2 separate regions of the Homo sapiens genome follow, and region 1 is linked to region 2. Evidence: promoter capture Hi-C in human tissues and cell types (Jung and others, 2019). All regions are on one chromosome and are shown on one strand. Each heading gives the region's core, a stretch centred on a gene start or on the middle of the fragment in contact. The rest is flanking DNA. Distances are from core to core; before and after follow the strand shown.

Region 1 (3,082 bases), core at 61-2,560, 300 kb before region 2:
TTACAATATTGGAAAATGAAGTATTTTTAATGTATTACAGCAATTATGTTTCTAAGCTTAATGTTAAGCATGTAGTCTTAGAATAGGACATGAAATTAAATTGTATGTAGCTTGGAATATATTGCTTCAGAAAACTGAATGTGTATGTCGGTCATATTGCCTTTATAACCATGCTAATATCTATGCTTTATACATACTCAAACTTGCCTTGCCTTAAAAACATACATACTACATACTTAAATCAGGAATTCTAGCCATCTCACAGAATACCAACTAAAACTAAGTGCATTGAGATCTGAGATTGGTAAACCCAGATTCATTTACCACAGCTGTAATTAAGTTTTTAGAAACTATTCTCTTTTTGGGGAAATCCATTGAAGTTAATTTCTGTTATCTTATTAGAAGAAAATGATGTTGATATGTGTTTCAGATTTTCCATTTGAAATCTTATAATTAATTTGATTTATTTACTGTAAGTAGGAGGTATAAATGACACTCTTAAATTGGAAGGAGGGGTGTTTTAGTGTCTGTTTTAGGTCAAAATTAGTGATTCTATTTTTATCAAAAGTTTTATCCTGAAGTTTCAGGACCACTCTTCCTTAATAAACTTGTTAATGGAAAGCGAGCTTTATGAACATTTAAAAATGTTGCTGCTGCTTTGTTGCTTAAAAAGAAAGTTGCCAAGAGAGACTTCTTAGGGAAAATATTTGGGTTTTTTTTCCAAAAATTGCTGAAATATTGTTTTGCCATTTTTAAAAAGTCTCAGGTTATTACCACTCTGCCATTAAATATTTGTATGCCTGCATTTTTAAAAATTCTGTGCATGTACTTTATGGAGTACATTCTATTTTTGTTTTCAGATACCCTACAACCAATTTTTTTTAGTAATCTTTTAGAATTGAAATTATCATAAATGATCGAGAATAATCATCACATAGTTTAAGATTGTATATGTTGAGTAGTTTAAAACAATCTTTGCATTTTACAGTAAGAATCAAAGTCCCTTCAGTGTGCCTTTGTCAGCTAATATGTGACCAGCAATGACAACCTTGGGAGTATTTATTAAATATTATGCTATGAATATAGGCAACACAGAACAGGGTTTGCAGTATAGCGTCTTGATGCTAAATTCTCATATACCTCTACACGAGAAATATGGAGGAGAAAAACAAGCATTTACATATATTCTTCGTCACTTTGAAGATGCATGGCCTGAACTCGACTGCTTGTGTTTGTTTACATATCAGGCATACCCAGGCATCTCCTGCAGCCAGAGGTTCCATTGCTGTCTTTGCTCAGTCCTCTTTTAAAATATGAATTAGTGGACAGGCACGGTGCCTCACACCTGTAATCCCAGCACTTTGGGAGGTCGAGGCAGGTGGATCACGAGGTCAGGAGATCAAGACCATCCTGGCTACCACTGAAACCCCATCTCTACTACAAAAAAATTAGCCGGGCGTGGTGGCGGGCACCTGCAGTCCCAGCTACTCGGGAGGCTGAGGCAGGAGAATGGTGGGAACCCGGGAGGCAGAGCTTGCAGTGAGCCAAGATCACGCCACTGCACTCCAGCCTGGGCAACAGAGCAAGACTCTGTCTCAAAAAAAATAAATAAATAAATTATGAATGAGTATTTTCTAGAAATTCAACTTGCTAAGCCTGTAATACTTAAGGGTAGTTTATCTAGATACAGTACTTTCTTCCCTGATAAGTAGTATCATTGGAGCCCTTAGGTATAGGAGAAGAGGAAGAAGTTTAAAAAGTGTAAGTGGGCCGGGCGTGGTGGCTCATGCCTGTAATCCCAGCACTTTGGGAGGCCGAGGGGGGCGGATCACGAGGTCAGGAGATCCAGACTATCCTGGCTAACAAGGTGAAACCCCGTCTCTACTAAAAATACAAAAAAAAACATTAGCCAGGCGTGGTGGCGGGCGCTTGTAGTCCCAGCTACTCGGGAGGCTGAGGTAGGAGAATGGCTTGAACCCAGGAGGCGGAGCTTGCAGTGAGCCGAGATTGCACCACTGCACTCCAGCCTGGGCGACAGAGCAAGACTCCGTCTCAAAAAAAAAAAAAAAGTGTAAGTGGATTAAAAGAGAAACTTGGTCTAGTTCATAATATTTTTAATAGGGCTTTCCCTGGCTGCTGGAAAACTTAGGCCAGTAAGCATCTCTTTGTTTAAAGTCCTACAAGACAATTTGAAATAATTCATTGTTCATGCCAAAATTCTAAGTACTGTTTTTCTTAGCAAGTGTAACATAATCAGGAACAATGGGTACAAGTAAAACATTCTTTGGATGATATTCAAAGCCTTATTAGCACTGCACCTGAATAATAGGTCATTTTGCCTCACTCATTTGCCAAAGTAGCCATTTCTAAGTTAAGGAAGTTTTTAGATAGGCTCATAGCCTTGTATTTCGTTTTAGATTGTAAGCTCAATGGCAGGGATACTATATTGGTAATTATGTTTTCATATAGCAACCACCACAGTATATTCTTGGTGCTTAATAAATGTTTATAATTGTTAACAATAACCTGTTGTATATTGTTTATTTTGAATGGTATATATGTGAAATACATATGAAAATTGAAGTATTCATGAATATATAATAGAAACAAGTAAATGAATAAAATGACCTGGTTACTATAGATAAGCCAAATTTTGAACCATCTAGAACAATGGTGTAGTCTTCCCTCTACTCAATGTAAATGCTGGGTTTTTTAATTATTATTATTATTAAGAAGGAGATACAGTCCAGGCACAGTGGCTCACACCTGTAATCCCAGCACTTTGGGAGGCCGAGGCCAGTGGATCACTTGAGGTCAGGAGTTTGAGACCAGCCTGGCCAACACAGTGAAACCTCATCTCTATTAAAAATACAAAAATTAATAGGGCGTGGTGGTGTGCACCTGTAGTCCCAGCTACTTGGGAGGCTGAGGCAGTAGAATCACTTGAATCCAGGGGGCAGAGGTTGCAGTGCAATGGTGTGCTGGGATTACAGGCAATGAGCCACTGTGCCCTGCCCTCAGCTGGAGTGCAATGGTGCAATTAAGTTCTTTCTTTTTCAACTCAAAATTTGTCTGCATCTTT
Region 2 (3,489 bases), core at 805-3,304:
GTCTTTGAAGCTGGGTTCCTGGGCATTTCCTTGAGAATAAATTCTATTCTTTGGAAACCACAAAACGCACTCACTTGGACCCAGAAAGGAGCGTCAGGTAACCCAGCTTCCATCTGTGGGCCTATGAGACCTGAGGAACTTTGACTAGAAGAGGCTCCCCATTTAACAGAGGCAAGTAGGTTTTGCGCTCCGTGAGATGGGGTAAGACCAGGTCTGTCTGCACTCCGGAGCAATGTTGGGCTGCCGCCCAATGGCAGGCACTGGGCTAGGCAAGAGGGTACCATGATGCCTGAGAAACAAAGATGAGCCCCTGACATGTCTGTGCTTCACAAATGTGTATGCCCAACAAAATGAAAGTCCAGCTCACAAAAGCAAGAAACCAGGTAGTGGCCAGGGAGTGAAAATCAAGCATTTCAGGGAAAGTGTATTTACTTTTTCCTCCCAAAGACTGGTCCTTCCAAGATTATCCTCCAACTGTGCTGTCACAAATTAATCCTCCCACAGCACAGCCTGGCCCACTTAGGGATGGGGAGGGGTACAGTGGAGACCCCCGGCCAATCGCCACCAGGATCGCCAAACTTTCCCAGCCGTGAAGGGTACACGTGGACTGTCATCGGAACGAACGCTTATTTCCAAGCCTTGACCAGAGTCACTCTCTTTTTGGTGGCCTCTGTCAAAATGTATCTTTAAAGGTTTTAAGTGGCTATGACTTACAAATCTCAGAGTATTAAGCCAGGCAAGAAACATTCTCTATTTTAGATGCCTGGATCCCTTTTTTCCTTCAGTCTATTATGGCTCTTCACTTCTTTGTTACACTTTCACTCTTGCTTAGAAAGTGTCTCAAAAATGCCACTTGAGAGCCACAGAGCAGTGGCCTGGGGACTGGGGAAGAGGACGGTGGTGCTCCTGTCTCTCCGTACGTCTCCTCACATGCGTGTACCCCTGGCTGTGTGGGATTGCCCACTGACCGGCATCTGCCCTGCTTGTTGATTTTAACTGTCCCTCTTGTTGCTGACCCAGCACAACATGGGCAGGGAAACCCAGTGGGAACCTCGCCTGCTGACCTCCCTGCCCAGCCACCCGCTTCTCCCTGAGCTGACATCTCAAAGCTTGGCTGCTGCAGGAGGCTGGGAATCAGAGCCGACTGAATCAGAGCCGACTCCTGTCTAGGAGCCCAACCCACCCCACGGTCTGTCAGAGTGTTGAGAGGAACCTCTTGGCTGGAAATGAAAACCTCAATCATCACAAATAGGTACCCACTCCCCTCCTTCTCTCCCTCTCCCCGCTCCCCCGCCACCAACACAGAGGCCAGGATATGGGGGGTCTCAGACACGACTGGAAACCCCACTTGGAAGGTCTCTTAGGTCACAGCGGGTACGCAGAGTTGGAGGCAGGTACAGAGCCCAGCTAGAGTCCCTGCCGCGCCTGCCTTCCCCAGTGAGCCGGGCACAGGGGCAAACCTGAGAAACATACTTTTCACGCTCCCTGGAGGAACCCGTTGCTTCAGTAGCCCAAATCTTAAAGCCTGTGAAGCACACACAGAATTTGTCTCCCTAACCAAATGTGCAACCAACAGCAAAACAGGGTTTCTGATGTTTTTCTAAAACAAAGGAACAATCTCAGGTCTTAGAACTGGTAGCGCAGACATACTGCAATCGGTAAAGCTTGTTCAAACGCAACCCAAAAATGACATGCATTTCAAAAATGCACCCAGCCTCTCTCCCAGCCCATGACACCTCCGTCTCGGCCACAGCTGAAGAGTTTAGAAAACCAGAGGAAAGGACCAGGGCTTACCTGGCTTCTGTTGGAGGTCAGCTTCAGTCCCAGCAGAAGATGGGTCTATGAAGAAAGTCAGGTACCATCCAGTTCTGGGTGACAGGCTTCACAGGTGGCCACCGTGGCAGCCCTCTCAGAAGCAGGTACTCTATGTCCTTAGGGGCCAGCAGGGCTGCCTGGGACCTGGCACACCTCTCTGACACTAGCCCCGCTTCCTTTCCGTTTAAAGGGCTTCCCGGGAACTCTTCCTTGACCGCTCCCTGCCCTGTCTGCAAGTTTGGAAACTCAGTCCTTGCCGAGGGGCTTTCCCTCATTGCAAACTCACCTGCACCATCTAGAGGTCTCTCCCAGCACTGGAGAGGCTGGAGCGGGCACGTTCAGCCCTGCTGCCATAGGTCCCTGGCACACCTGGCTCTCCGGCCGTCTGCCCCTTAAGAGATCTGTTGGAATGCGTAAAAATCATGGATTTTTTTTTTTGCAGGGGTGGGGGCCTTGCTTCTATCAGAGCCTTTAGGCGTGGGAGTGCTAAAAAGCTAAACTAGCATTAAAATATCATTAATCAAAGCTTGTTCGTAGAAGGACCCCCCACTGAGATGGCTACAGGCATGGGTGCCACTGCACGGATTCAGCTTCCAACATGTCTGTTCACATTCTCACCCATCCCCCGCACATCCCTCAGGGTTTGAGCCACCAGGACTGCTCTTCCTTTCCTCTCTCTGGACACCTCACACCACCAGTGTATACCCATGTAACTTCAGATAACCATACACACCCCCCGTATAACTAGGTAATTAGGAAGCCATTTGAAACATCAACATTTTGAAAGGACATACCTTTCAGTATTGGGCAATTATTTCTCAAAAAGTAAATGATTGGGGGGGGGAAAACAGCCTTAAAATAATGTCATTCTCTTGTCATTTTCTCCCTCATTCACACCTACACAGATAAATACAGGAACAGAGCAGCTCCTCCAGGCTAGATTTCTGTGTTCTCCTTTTCCATCTTGTCCCCTCTGCCTTGGAAACCTACAAGGTAACTCACACATGAGAAAGTAAGAGCTTAAGAAAGAAACAGTCTGGGCTCCGTGGCTCACACCTGTAACCCCAGCACTTTGGAGGCTGAGGCGGGCAGATCACTTGAGGTCAGGAGTTTGGGATCAGCCTGGCCAACATGGTGAAACTCCGTCCCTACTAAAAATACAAAAATTAGGCCGGGCGCGGTGGCTCACGCCTGTAATCCCAGCACTTTGGGAGGCCGAGGCGGGTGGATCATGAGGTCAGGAGATCGAGACCATCCTGGCTAACAAGGTGAAACCCCGTCTCTACTAAAAATACAAAAAATTAGCCGGGCGTGGTGGCGGGCGCCTGTAGTCCCAGCTACTCGGGAGGCTGAGGCAGGAGAATGGCGTGAACCCGGGAAGCGGAGCTTGCAGTGAGCCGAGATTGCGCCACTGCAGTCCGCAGTCCGGCCTGGGTGACAGAGCGAGACTCCGTCTCAAAAAAAAAAAAAAAAAAAAATATACAAAAATTAGCCGGTGGTGGCATGTGTGGAGGCTAAAGCAGGAGAATTGTTCGAACCCAGGAGATGGAAGTTGCAGTGAGCCGAGATTGTGCCACTGCACTCCAGCCTGGGCAACAGAGCGAGAATCTGTCTCAAAACAGAAAAGAAAAGAAAAGAAAAAAGCAGACAGAAATGTATGGGGCTGGGGCAAGG

The links. Contacts are between HindIII fragments. The study calls those that stand out against the background at their distance.
Region 1: a fragment that was not itself captured here is called in contact with the fragment with the promoter of EDAR in region 2 in 1 of the 25 tissues and cell types used here (mesenchymal stem cells).

The regions. Positions count from the first base shown.
Region 1 is chr2:108,684,722-108,687,803 of GRCh38, forward strand. LIMS1 (LIM zinc finger domain containing 1) reads left to right here. Exons shown (of 10, transcript NM_001193483.3): 10 at 1-2,525. Among named protein-coding and RNA genes, the nearest start is that of LIMS1-AS1, 7.7 kb to the left of the region's middle. The HindIII fragment of the contact is 4,750 bases long and covers 1-3,082 here.
Region 2 is chr2:108,987,166-108,990,654 of GRCh38, forward strand. EDAR (ectodysplasin A receptor) reads right to left here and starts at 2,055. Exons shown (of 12, transcript NM_022336.4): 1 at 1,795-2,055. It also overlaps a transcript of RANBP2 not described here. RefSeq lists an enhancer at 528-1,029. The HindIII fragment of the contact is 2,359 bases long and covers 1,387-3,489 here.